Linked DNA regions of Homo sapiens: regions 1, 3 and 4 are each linked to region 2. The links are contacts of gene promoters, found by promoter capture Hi-C in human tissues and cell types (Jung and others, 2019). All regions are on one chromosome and are shown on one strand. The core of a region is centred on a gene start or on the middle of the fragment in contact, and the rest is flanking DNA. Distances in the headings are between cores, read along the strand shown. Region 1 overlaps KCNK10 (potassium two pore domain channel subfamily K member 10). Region 2 holds the start of KCNK10 (potassium two pore domain channel subfamily K member 10). Region 3 has its middle 17 kb from the start of SPATA7. Region 4 overlaps KCNK10 (potassium two pore domain channel subfamily K member 10).

Region 1 (3,404 bases), core at 324-2,823, 33 kb after region 2:
TGAACTTTTTTTCTCAAGTGGATGGACTTCTTGGGGAAGGCTTTTTTCTGAAGGCTTTGATGTAGCTTCTGACCCCATCCAGTGCCTACTTGGCCCAGGAGAAACCATTAGGCATCTTTGTGCTGCCATATATGGGGAAAGCACGTGACTCCACTGTTGCCTACCCTCCTCAGCCTGCATTACAGGCCAAACACTGCGCACCCATGTCTGATTTTCCCAGGGCCGTCTCATTGCACACCTCCAGAGGGCATCATTCACATGTGTTCTCCTAGAATTGCACAGTTAATGTGGCAGCCCTGAGTTCAGACAAATCTCTCATGCCCCTACCTGTAGCAGTGCATTCTATGAAGTATGCAGTTCAGCAGGCACCCAGCTGGGGTTCCAGATGCTGAGACCCCCTTCTGCCAACCCCTCTGATCTCTGAGCAGTTCTCTTTCTGCTCCTTCATTTGCCATAGTGCTGCAATGCTATGTGTTCTTTTCTGCTAAGAAATGCTTTTTCTCCAGCGAATTCTCTTATATGGCTTAGAGATCATATGCAAGCTCTGCATTGATGGATCCTCAGTCTTCAGTTTTGAGAGATCTCAGTATAAACCCCAAGACAACAGGAAAGGGCTCACTTAACATTGCCTTGTAACAGAGAAACCCTCTCTTTGAATGAAAGCTGTCAGGGAAGCTCAGTATATAAAGCAGGTGACATGGTGCTCCATTGGGGTGGTGGGGAACGAGGGGCGGGGTGCTCAAGGCTGGCTTCTGTGCACAGTTAGAAAACTCCTGTGCCTGAGAAAGCCAACCGTGGTTTCCACGACCAGGAGTTTCCCACTATTTACAGTTCTGCAGTGTTTGGCTTCTTCATGATTTTCTGCTGGTGAAAGCAATAGTTTGTACAAGACGTGTGGGAATAAAAATAGTCCAGGTGCTGCCCTTTTCCGCGGCAGAGGGACCACCTGTCAGGCTGCCCTAGTGGGCCTCTTCCCACAGCACGGTTCTGCCACTTGAATACCTCCCTGCCTGTTTCCTGACGCTGACCTAGAAGCTTCTGGTGAATGCTTTGCTTCTGCACAACTTGCATGGTGGGTGCCTTTTTTTTGTGAATGAAAAGGTCTTCCTCTGGCTCTGAATATAGCAACTGCATGACCTGCAGAAATAATTTTGTTGTTTCCTTGTGGCCATGTTAGCTTAGGGCTTTGTACCTTATAGGGACATTGGCAAGAATTTTCTCAAAAGGTTTTCATCTGTAAATTTTCATCTTTGCACATAGTAGAGAGCTTAGAACGTCAGTCTCGTTCCATCTGTTATAAGTTTTGAGGCTTTGGGCAAAGTACCTAACTTCCCTGTGCCTCGATTTCTCCATCTGTAACACTGGAGCAAGAGTAGAACCTCCATCCTGGTCTGCGGTGAGGCTTAGTGAGGGCATTCATGTGAAATGTACACAGTGCCTGGCACAGAGCAAGCACCCAGAACATGTTACTAATTGCATTAGTTTCCTCTTGCTGCTATAACAAGTTGCACAAACTGCATAGCTTAAAACAACACAAGTTTATCATATCATTCTGCATGTTAGACTTCCTAAGTGGGTCATATGGGGCTAAAATCAAGGTGTCCACAGGGCTGTTTCCTTCTGGGGGCTTTAGGGAGAATCCTTCCCTTGCCTTTTCCAGCTTCTAAAGGCTGCTCATGTTTCTTGGCTCATGGCTGCACCACTGTAACCTTTGCATCTGTCCTCACATGCCTCCTCTCTCTGGCCCTCCCGCTCCCCCTTGTGATTACACTGGACCCACCCAGATAATCCAGGATCATCTCCTGATCTCAAGATCTTAATCACATCAGCAAAATCCCTTTGTCGTGTAAAGTAGTAAAGTAATGTGCTCACAGGTTCCAGGGATCAGGACATGGACATCTTTGGGGGACCGAACATTATCCTGCTGATCCTACCAATTATTTAAAAAGTTGTCCTGTAAGTATCTACAGTGTGCCTCTGCTGTGTGCTGGGCATACAAGGTGAATAAGACACAATGCTTATGCCAAAATAGATACACAAGCACGATGCCCTTAGTAATAATCACAGTAGCTGACATTTACTGAGTATTTACTATGTGCCAGGCATTGTGCCAGGCACTTCAAGTGAATTATCTTGCTGAAATCTCACCATGGCACTAAGGGAAAGGTATAATTTCCATTTTAAGGATAAGAACACTGAGGCTTAGAGAGCTTAAGTATTTTTTCTCAAGGCCACAGAGCTAAGGACATGAGCTCAGGTCTATCTGATTCTAAGCTTGAACAATTCATCACAGCCCCCTTAAAAGATGGGTGGGTTTACCCTCAGGCTCTCTTCTTCACTGTGTGTGTAGCTAAAGATTGGCCAGCTTAAGAGGAGCAGATCACACAAGCAGCTATGATGAGGGCCAGTGGGCAGAGCTCCCAGAGGAGGCTGATGCAACATTGCTCCCATTCCTGCCATCACCCAAAGCTGCAAGTCCATGGCCCTGGCACTTGGGCAAATGTTGCCTTGTCTTCAAGTGAATCTAAAAAACTGTGTAAGGGCATGATTAATTCCACCAAACTGGATTCTCCCCAAGATCACTTACACCACACTAATGGGGCCCTGCTTCAGCCTGAGGAACTGTGTGAATAAAAGAGAAGAAGCCCAGTGAGATTCTTCTTTCATGATTAATAGAAAAACCACCTGGTGACTTTAAAAGGCAAAGAAGGAGGTACATTCAGATGAGTCAGAAAGAAAAGGCAGCATTTGAATCCTAAAGGCCATGTTACTCTTGATCTTCTCCAGGATTTCCTTTAGGGAAATGGAAATTTTTACATGGAGGGCAGAGGTGGGGTGAAGGTTGGACTGTAGACTGAGTGGTGTTATAATGAGACCAACCCGGGTGCTGGGTTGAATCATATATTCTAGATGGGAAGTTTATATTCTAATGAGGGAGACACACAGGGAATGAGCAAATCAGTACAGAATACAATCTCAGCTAGCACTAAGTTGCTTTGAGGAAAATCAAGCCAGGTGGTGGGCTAGGAAGAGACTGGAGGGGAGAATGGCCCTTCTGCAGTGGGGTGGTGAGGAAGGAAGTCCTCGCTGAGGAGGCAGCATTGAGCACTGAGAGGGAGCTACCCTGTAAGGCCCTGGGCAAGACTGTTCCAGGTTGAGGGAACAACACACGTGCAGTCCCTGAGACTAGAGCTAACTTGGACAAATGAGAAGACCAGTGTGGCTGGGCGGTATTGAGGGACAGATGGTAGGAGATGAAGGTGGAGAAGTGGGCCATGGCCAGAATTTGGGGATCTAAGGACAGGAGTTTGGAGGTTCCTCAGGGAGTTGTGGGAACCCTCTGGAAGGTTTTCAGCATGCAGTGGAGGGATCGAATTTACATTTTGGCAGGCAGGTTAGGACAC
Region 2 (3,210 bases), core at 101-2,600:
GTAAGCCCCATGAAGGCAAGATCTCTGTCTTGTTCTCTGCCATATGGCCAGCACATAGCACAGTGATGGCACTTGGAAGGGGTTCAATATATATGTTGAATGAACAACAAATTTTAGTAACCTTATCTGGAAGCCAGAGTAGGGGTTTAAACTACTTCCTATCCAACACTGCAGCATGCAATTCATGTCTTCATTTAGCAAGTATTTCTTGAGCACCTACTACGTGTAAGGCTCCGTTGCGAGGCATCCGAAGCAATTTGTCAGCATCATTCATGTTGATACTCGGAGTGACCCGTTCAAGAGCACCTCAGCACCACCTGGCTTTTCTGAAGACTGAGGCCCCACCACAAACCCCTGTGGGGCTTCAAGCAGGGGCAGTGAGAGGGCGTTAGACGAATGCTCCAGGTTTAGCCCCTTTCCGGGAACAGGTCTGGGTCCCTTCGCATCTGCCCTGCTGGTCCCAGGATCCCGGGGCCGCCGCTTCCGGGAGCTGCCGGGTCTTGGCAACTCCGCTTTCCTCCGGGGGCCCCCGTGCCTCTCTCAAGCCTCCTTTCCAGCCAACGACCAGCGGCCCCAGTCCGGCTGCAGGTAGCTGGGGAAGGGACCAAGCTGTGCCTTGGGAGCGAGCTTCCCCGGGCGGGGAGAGCGCAGCAGATGCGGAGCGGTCCCAGAACAAAAGGCTCATGGCTGGCACGGGCCTCCTTGGAGTGCGGCGGGGACGTGGGTTCGGGACTCAGGCGAGAGAGCCAGACGCGGGAGGAAAAAAAATGAAGTGAGAAAAGAGAAGGAGGGAGAGCTCAGGGTGAGAGCGGTGAGAAGAGGTGACCCGGAGGCCGAGGTCTGCGGCGGAGCCGCAGCGGCCCTTCCTCCGCCTCCTGCAGCGCCTTCCAGGCAACCAAGCGTGTCTCCGGCTGCAACTCCAGCAAGCGCGCCGCTGCCGCCTCCACGCCCGCCCGCCGGCCGGCCGAGCCAGTAAGTAGCGGCGCGCCCACCGCTCGTTCCCCGCCCCTCCGCGGCTTCCCCGCCACCGCCCACCGCCTCCCGCCGCCCCGCGGGCAAGTCCGCGACCGCCTCCCGCTGCCCCGAGCCGGGTGCCGGGGGCTCAGCGCGCCTTCCCAGCTGGGAGCCTCGGTCCGCTGCTCGCCCTGCTCCCTCTTGCCGGGGCGCGGCGTCTGGGGCGCGCCGCGGGGAGGGTCGCCCTCGCCGCGCGCTGCCCGGGCGCCGCGCCACCCCTACATCCAATGGCTTTCGGGGAGCGGGAAGTGGGGGGCGTCGCCGGGGGCGAGGAGCCGCGGCCGGGGTGGGGCGTGTGCGCTCAGCGCGGCCGAGCGAGGCTGACGTGCCCGCCCAAGCGCGCGCCCGGGAGTGTGTGTGCGGGTGTGTGTGTGCGGGAGTGTGTGCGCACACGCCTTCGGGGGCTGGAGTGACACTGCAGTGGGCTTCTCCGTAGCCCCAGCCTTCAGGCTGCGCAGCCCCTAACCTGCCGGCACCGCTTTTGGGAAGCAGCTTGGCTCTTCCATCTCCCCAAGCCTTCCTCTCCATCCTTTCATCCACCCCTCGCCGATCTTACTTTTTCTTTTACCCACGGGGCCGCGGCCGGCCACCCCCTGGCCGGTGCAAACACCCAAGCCCTCTCCAGTTCTCCCCCAAGCTAATATTTTCCCACCTGTCTTTTTCTGGGGTTCCTCCACGAGCCAGTCCAAGGCTCCCCCATCCTCGGAAATTGTTTTGTTGGACTGCTAAACCGAGGCGTGTAAAGCTTGAGGACTTTATTATTATTTGGGTTCTTTTCATTTCTTCCCCTTCTGGGCAACGAAGCAATGAAATTTCCAATCGAGACGCCAAGAAAACAGGTGAACTGGGATCCTAAAGGTGGGTGTTTCCTACTTTTGGCTGCCCTCGCCCTGCCTCTGTCTCCGGCGTGTGCGCGCTTCCTTGAGTGGAAGCACTCTTGCTTCTGGCAGCGTGTGTCCTGAGGCTGGGAAATGCGCCTGGGAACTGCAGCGCGGGTGGGAGGAGGGCGGAGGCAGCGTGGGTTCCGAACCCAGATAGTGCCTGTCATTACCACATAATCATTGTCCCTCCTAGATTGTCTCCAGATCTATTTAGATAGACCAAGCCGACTGTTTGGTTTGAAATTGCAAGTGTCGGTATTTGCTTTTGACTTTGAGTGTGCGAGTGTGTGTGTGTGTGTGTGTGTGTGTGTGTGTCCTTTGTTTCTGGTGATCTTTGTCTCTCTGGCAGATGGGTGGGGTGCTTCCCCCTGGACCTGGAGCTGCGCCGCATGCCCGGGTGTCCTCAGTGGGAAAGGTTTCCTGGCAGCAAGTGGGGCTCGAGTTGCAGCAGCCGTCCCTAGGGGTGGGCCGTTCTCGCAGGGCATGCAGAATAATGGAGCCCACAGGGCCTCCTGAGTCTTCGTTCAATCTTATTACCAAACCTAGCAGCTAGTTAGGCTCAGGTCAGAGTAGAAGCAGGAGGAGGGGTGGTTTGTGAGAAGGGTGGGGCTGGCAAGGCATAGGGGAGGGGCACGAAGTGTGCCCGCCCAAGCAATGGTGTGGTTTGCATGCTTTTACGAATGTTGGACCAGGTTTCATCCACGCAAAAGGGAGGGATTAAGACGGATTTGTGTGTGCCTAGCGTCGGCCACCGTGTCTGTAATTAGCATACAGATGTTAAGGCTCCAAGGGAGTGATCAGTATGAGAGCAGAACAAGTTGGAACCGCGTGTCCAGTTGTGACAAGAATGCTCTTTAGCATTTCTTGTAGCTCATCTGACGACTGTGTCAGGCTAGGCAACGCCTCTGTGTGTATTGGAATTGAAATTTGTTTATTTGGGGTGCGTGTGTGTTTAATGTTCTTTATGAGCGCATTTCTTCTTTTTCTCCAGACTGGAAAGAAGAAACCATCTTATTTGTTGAGTAAATGTCTTAGGAATTGACTGGCTATTGAAGAGTGAGTGAAGAGATACTGCCTTTTTAAAACACTGAGGCTGTTACATCTTAAATACAGCCCAAACCTTCTATTTTGTCTCTACTTGAAATCTCTGGAAATATGGAGGTGTGCCTTTGCTTTTTTGGGGGGAGAATCCCTGAAAAGCATATTTGTTAAATACCTATTACATGCTAAACACTGTCCTAAGCTCTGGAGATACAGTCAGAACAGGAAAGATAAAAGCTCTGACTTGGAGTTTACAGTGAGGGAGACAGACCTA
Region 3 (3,310 bases), core at 331-2,830, 46 kb before region 2:
GGTCAGTCCCCTCTTCTGCAGGCCTTCTGGAGTTTTCTGGAGGTCCACTCCAGATCTTGTTTGCCTGGGTATCACCAGTGGAGGCTGCAGAACAGCAAAGATTGCTGCCTTCTCCTTCCTCTGGAAGCTTTGTCCCAGAGGGGCACCTGCCAGATGCCAGCTGGAGCTCTCCTGTATGAGGTGTCTGTTGACCCCTGCTGGAAGGTGTCTCTCTGTCAGGAGGCACTAGGATTAGGGACCCACTTGAGAAGGCAGTCTGTCCCTTAGCAGAGCTCAAGTGCTGTGCTGGGAGATCTGCTGCTCGCTTCAGAGCTGGCAGACAGGAATGTTGAAGTCTGTTGAAGCTGTGCCCACAACCGCCTCTTCCCTCAGTTGCTCTGTCCCAGGGAGATGGGAGTTTTATCTATAAGCCCCTGACTGAGGCTGCTGCCTTTTGTTCAGAGATGCCTTATCCAGAGAGGAGGAATCCAGAGAGGCAGTCTGCTGCAGTGGCTTTTTGGCATTGTGGTGGGCTCTGCCCAGTCCGAACTTCCTGGCAGCTTTGTTTACACTGTGAGGGGCAAACCACCTACTTAAGCCTCAGTAATGGCAGATGCCCCTCCCCTCATCAAGCTGGAGCATCCCAGGTCGACTTTAGACTGCTGTGCTGGCAGGGAGAATTTCAAGCCAGTGGATCTTAGCTTGTTGGGCTCTGTAGGATGGGATATGCTGAGCAAGACCACTTGCCTCCCTGGCTTCAGCCCCTTTTCCAGAGGAGTGAACGGTTCTGTCTCGCTGGCATTCCAGGCACCACTGCGGTACAAAAACAAAACAAAACAAACAAAAAAAAAAACTCCTGCAGCTAGCTCAGTGTCTGCCCAAATGGCCACCCAGTTTTGTGCTTGAAACCCAGGGCCCTGGTGGTATAGGCACCCAAGGGAATCTCCTGGTCTGTGGGTTGTGAAGACCATGGGAAAAGCGTTGTATCTGGGCTTGATAGCACTGTCCCTCACAGCAGAGTCCCTCATGGCTTCCCTTGGTCAGGGGAGGAAGTTCTCCAACCTCTTGTGCTCCCTGGATGAGGCAATGCCCCATCTTTCTTCTGCTTGCTCTCTGTGGGCTGCACCCACAGTCTAACCAGTTCCAATGAGATGAACTGGGTACTTCAGTTGGAAATGCAGAAATCACCCACCTTCTGCATTGGTCTGGCTGGAAGCTGCAGACTGGAGCTGTTCCTATTTGGCCATCTTGCCAATCATCTGTCTAGTACTTACAGGCTAATTTTTGCAAGTCAATATTACAATAGCTTATAAATACCAATTACAATAGCTACAAATAAAATACAATATCTAGCAATTAATTTATCCAAAGAACTGAAAGATCTCTGTAGTGAAAACTATAAAAGAAATTGATGAAAGAAATTGAGGAGGACATGAGAAAATGAAAAGATATTCCATGTTCATGGATTGGAAAAATTGATGTTGTTAAAATGTCTATACTACCGAAAACAATCTACAGATTCAATACAATCTCTATCAAAATACCAATGACATTCTTCACATAAATGAAAAAACGATCCTAAAATGTATATGCAACCACAAAAGACCCAGAATAGCCAGAGCTATCCTAAGCAAAAAGAGCAAAACTGGAGCAATCATATAATCTGACTTCAAATTATACTACAGAGCTATAGTAACCAAAATAGCATGATTCTGGCATAAAAACAGACACATAGACTGGTGGAACAGAATGAAGAGCCCAGAAATAAATCCATACGTTTATGCTAACTCATTTTCAACAAAGGTTTCAAGAACACGCATTGGGAAATTGACAGTCTCTTCAATAAATGGTTCTGGGAAAACAGGTTATCCATATGCAGAAACTAAACATCTATCTCTCACCATATAACAAAATCAAGTCAAAATGCATTTAAGTAATAAATCTAACACCTCAAACTATGAAACTACTACAAGAAAACATTGGGGAAACACCAGGACATTGGTCTGGGCAAAGACTTTTTGGGCAATACCCCATTAGCACAGGCAACCAAAGCAAATATAGACAAATGGGATTACATCAAGTTATAAAGCTTCTGCACAGCAAAGGAAAAAATAAAGTGAAGAGACAACCCACAGAATGGGAGAAAAGATTTGCACACTATTCCTCTGACAACGGATTAACAACTAGAATATCTAAGGAGTTCAAACAACTCAATAAGAAAGAAAAATCTAATAAACTAATTAAAAAGTGTGCAGAATATCTGAATAGGCATTTCTCAAAAGAAGACATACAAATGGCAAACAGGTATATGAAAGTATACTCTGGGCAAAGATTTCATCAAAGACACTAGAAGCAATTGCAACAAAAGCAAAAATTGACAAAAGTAATCTAATTAAAGAGCTTCTGCACAGCAAAAGAAATTATCAACAGGGTAAACAAGCAACCTACAGAATGACAGGAAATTTTTGCAAACTATGCATCTGACAAAGATCTAGTATTCAGCATCTATTAGAAATTTAAACAAATTTACAAGAAAAAAACAAAGAACCTCATTAAAAAGTGGGCAAAAGACATGAACAGATACTTCTCAAAAGAAGGCATTCATGTGGTCAACAAGCATATGAAAAAAATCTCAACATCACTGATCATTAGAGAAATGCAAATCAATTCAAAACCACAATGAGATAACATCTCACACCAGTCAGAATGGTGATTATTAGAAAGTCAAAAAATAACAGATGCCAGTGAGGTTGTAGAGAAAAAGGAACACTTGTACACTGTTGGTGGGAGTGTAAATGAGTTCAACCATTCTGGAAGACAGTGTGGAGATTCCTCAAAGATCTAAAGTCAGAAACACCATTCAACCCAGCAATATCATTACTAGGTATATACCCAAAGGAATATAAGTCATTCTATTATAAAGATACATGCATGCATATGTTTATTGCAGCACTATTCATGATAGCAAAGAGATGGAATCAACCCAAATGCCTATCAGTGATAGACTGTATAAAGAATGTGGACATGTACACCATGGAATACTATGCAGCCATAAAAAAGAACAAGATGATGTCGTTTGTAGGGACATAGATGGAGCTAGAGGCCATTATCCTTAGCAAACTAATGCAAGAACAGAAAAACAAATATCACATCTTCTCACTTATAAGTAGGAGCTAAATGATAACACATGGACCCATAGAGGGGAACAACACATACCAGGGCTTATTGGAGGGTGGAGGCAGGGAGGAGGGAGAGGATCAGGAAAAATAACTAAGGATACTCAGCTTAATACCTGGGTGATGAAATAATTGGTACAACAAACCCCATGATG
Region 4 (3,240 bases), core at 443-2,942, 50 kb after region 2:
GTGCAATGTCGACTCACTGCAACCTCCTCCTCCCAATTCTCCTGCCTCAGCCTCCTGAGTAGCTGGAATTACAGCGTGCGCCACCATGCCTGGCTAATTTTTGTATTTTTAGTAGAGACAGGGTTTTGGCATGTTGGCCAGGCTGGTTTGGAAAGGATCTTTCTAATAGGCCAAAAAATATTTTTCAGTTTTGCTTTCTACTGTGGATCTGTAGATCCACAGTATAACTACTTATGGTCTATTTGCTTGTGATTGCAGATACTGAAGGAGTTTGCTGGGAAGGGAGAAGTGTGTGTGGAAGAAGAGGGGAGGGCTGGAGAAGTGAGATGAGCCCTGAGCACACGGGACATTGGAGGCCAGGGAAAGAACCATGGCGGTGCTTGTGGAGTTTTAATAGGTGCAAGCTGGGAATTTCAGAAGGCTCACCTGGCTGCTGAGTGGAGCCTAGGGCAGGGTGGGGGGTGGGGGGAGACCCCTCCGGGAGCCAGTGAGGAGAGATAACTGCTTTTGACAAGACACCTGGGAAAGACATCTGGAAGGAATGGCGTTGACAATAAGATTTAAAACCCTTGGCCCCAGGGAAAGGGGATATTTTGAGAACTATGACTGCTTGTATTACTTTTAATCCCAAGAGGAGGATAAAGGTCTTTCCTGTATAAAGTGCGCTAGTTAATTTAAATTGTGGAGGAAAAAACTTAGGGCAAGAGACAGAATATGATATTCAGGAAGCATTTTGGAAAAAGACACAAGGAACCCCAGCTGTGGCTGTGTGCACCTTTAGGGCCTTGATCATGGAGGCAGGATAAAGAAGTCCATCTCGTCAACATGGCGGAGTCAGAGTCTATTGGGAGAATCACGAGGTAGGCAGCTCTAAATCCCAAAAGATGGTGGTCCAGTCGGATATGCCTGGGCTGCTCTGACCAGCTCAGCACACACAAGGAATAGCTCTGGTCCTGGGCAATTTGTGCCCTGGGTCGGAGGGTGAGAGTTTATTTTATCGGAACAATAAAGGCATCCCACCTGCTACCAGGAGCAACCAAAAATGCTCAGAAGTTCTGGAACAGGAGTGCTGTTGAACAGGGTTTCCTGGCAGCCCGAGATAGAAAGTGGTAAAAACAGCAAAATGCTGCTATGGTATAGTACTGAAGTCATCAGGCACACACTGAGACTTCCTGTGGGTCAGGCCTTGTGAATGGTGCTGGAGACAGAGACTGGGATAAGATCTACCATCTCTGATGCTGACGCCCAGCCCAGTTCTCCCCTTTTCCTCTCTAGTTTTTTCTTTCTCTGTCATGCATCCCCCTCCCTTTGCTGTCCCTTAAATGTTGCTCCCTTGAGCATCATCTTTTACTCTCTTCTCATTTTACATCTCCCTCTGGACCACTTCATCCAGTCCTGTGGCTTCAGTACCACTTACATACTCATCACTCTTAAATCTAGGGATTCAGCTAGATTATTCCCCTGAGTTCTGGTCCCTTATGCCTCATGTTAACTGGATAGCTCCACCTGGATGGGCTACAGGAGCTGCACACCTAACTCTCCTGCATTTTCTGTCTTGCAGAGCATGATACTGTTATAAGCTTATAAGAGTCATCCCAGACGCCTCCTTTCTTCCTTTGCATCCATCACTAGGACCCGCACATTTTACTTCCTTAACACGCCTTGTCTCTGACTCCTCCTCTGCTGCTGCCTGAGTTGAGGCCTCATAATACATTCCAGTAAACTCCTACCCACACCCCCCACAGACGATCTCTCACTTGCTGCATGTCTCTTACGCACTGCTGCCAGAGTCAGCTTGCTAAACCCAGGTCTGACCCCCTGGCTCTTCTCCCTGTGTTAGCCTTGATGGCTTCCCACGCTCATTAATAAGACCAACAAGAGCCACACTCTCTCCTCTGCTTGTCTTTGCAGCTTTATTTTGGTGTAGCCATCTTCACACCCTCTAGTCCTGACACGCAGACCTGAGGTAATTTCCCAAATGCCCCAGGCTGATTCATGGCTGAGTGTCTTTGTATCTGTTGCCCCCCCATTGCTGTTCCGCCTTCCTCTCCACCTCCTTCTGCCCTCTCGCAGACACCTAATGCCCTTTCCACACCAGTGGGCACCTTGTCTTTGCATTCTCGTCTCCTCTTCGGTGGCACTGACACTCTCTCTTCATGTCTTTCTGTCCCCCACACCTCTGTCAAACACAGCATCTGCACGCTTTGTTGCATTTGCTTGCATAGAACACGTAGTTTTCTTCACCTCCTAATAATGTGGACAGCTCACGTTGATTGAGGACTTGCTTTGAACAAGGCATTGAGCAACATGCCGTACATTTTATGTTAAATCTTCCCAATAGTGCTACTGCTTCTGTCCCTTTCCAGGGAGGAGGAAGGAGGCTTGGAGAAGGGACTGTCTTTTAGGAGCCCTGCCCAGTGTTTCCTGTGGAGGGTGGGGCCATCGTGGAAGACAGACCTATGGTAGGGGTAAGCTGGGTGGCTGTTGAAGTCCAACCTTCCCCCTGCTTCCTCTAACCCTGATAACCTTGTTCTCTGGGGCCTGTCTGCTAGTGGAGAGGCTTCTGACTTTTTTTTTTTTTTTGCCATACCTTTGGTTTATAAATACAAGAAGAGATTTGGGGAAAAATCAGGGGAAACTGTCGAGCTTACAAGTCCCGAGAAGGAAGTCACTGCTCCTTTAAGTCTCATGTGAACCCCTTGTTCTCTCCCCAGCTTGTGGGGTGAAAGAAAAGCCCTTTAGTCTTTTGGGTCCTCAAATCACAGTTTATGCAGTTTGGCCCCAGTCAGAGGGACCCCAGGAAGGCAGACTCAGGGTAAATTCTGCCTGTCTTCCACCAGAGAGGGGACTCACCAAGTGTGACTCATGCCATTCAATAGAATTTTTAAAATCTCACAAGTATTTTGTACCCCTGAGTAAAAGAGAGGCTTGTAGCTCTTCATGAAGGAACAAGAAAGGCCCGAACTGAGTGTTTGGAGCCCAGTGAAGTAAAATACTGCCCTGTCTCTTGTCTGTCCACTCTAGCGCTTGTACAAACCATGAAGAACTCTCTTTGGACTGTTTGCTTTTTGAGAATGTTAACACCTTGACTCTGGATTTCTGCCTATGGGAAAAAACCACAATAGTGCCAGGGGTGCTTCCATATGCAGGATTAACTCTGCAGTCAAAGTTTCTGTTGGGCAGGTGTGTGAACTTGATACCATAAATGCTGGCCCAAAGCAAATGGGAGAATGGATGAAT

Evidence for each region. Contacts are between HindIII fragments. The study calls those that stand out against the background at their distance.
Region 1: a fragment that was not itself captured here is called in contact with the fragment with the promoter of KCNK10 in region 2 in 2 of the 25 tissues and cell types used here (adrenal gland and bladder).
Region 3: a contact is called between a fragment that was not itself captured here and the fragment with the promoter of KCNK10 in region 2, in 2 of the 25 tissues and cell types used here (adrenal gland and neural progenitor cells).
Region 4: a fragment that was not itself captured here is called in contact with the fragment with the promoter of KCNK10 in region 2 in 1 of the 25 tissues and cell types used here (spleen).

What each region holds. Positions count from the first base shown.
Region 1 is chr14:88,288,549-88,291,952 of GRCh38, reverse strand. The region is part of intron 1 of KCNK10 (potassium two pore domain channel subfamily K member 10); the gene reads left to right. Among named protein-coding and RNA genes, the nearest start is that of KCNK10, 33 kb to the left of the region's middle. The HindIII fragment of the contact is 5,467 bases long and covers 1-3,404 here.
Region 2 is chr14:88,321,409-88,324,618 of GRCh38, reverse strand. KCNK10 (potassium two pore domain channel subfamily K member 10) reads left to right here and starts at 1,350. Exons shown (of 7, transcript NM_138317.3): 1 at 1,350-1,872. The coding sequence starts at 1,821. RefSeq lists enhancers at 713-772, 1,345-2,004 and a silencer at 823-1,062. The HindIII fragment of the contact is 9,751 bases long and covers 1-3,210 here.
Region 3 is chr14:88,367,476-88,370,785 of GRCh38, reverse strand. No RefSeq gene overlaps it. Among named protein-coding and RNA genes, the nearest start is that of SPATA7, 17 kb to the left of the region's middle. The HindIII fragment of the contact is 5,913 bases long and covers 1-3,310 here.
Region 4 is chr14:88,271,270-88,274,509 of GRCh38, reverse strand. All of the region lies in intron 1 of KCNK10 (potassium two pore domain channel subfamily K member 10), which reads left to right. Among named protein-coding and RNA genes, the nearest start is that of KCNK10, 50 kb to the left of the region's middle. The HindIII fragment of the contact is 5,825 bases long and covers 1-3,240 here.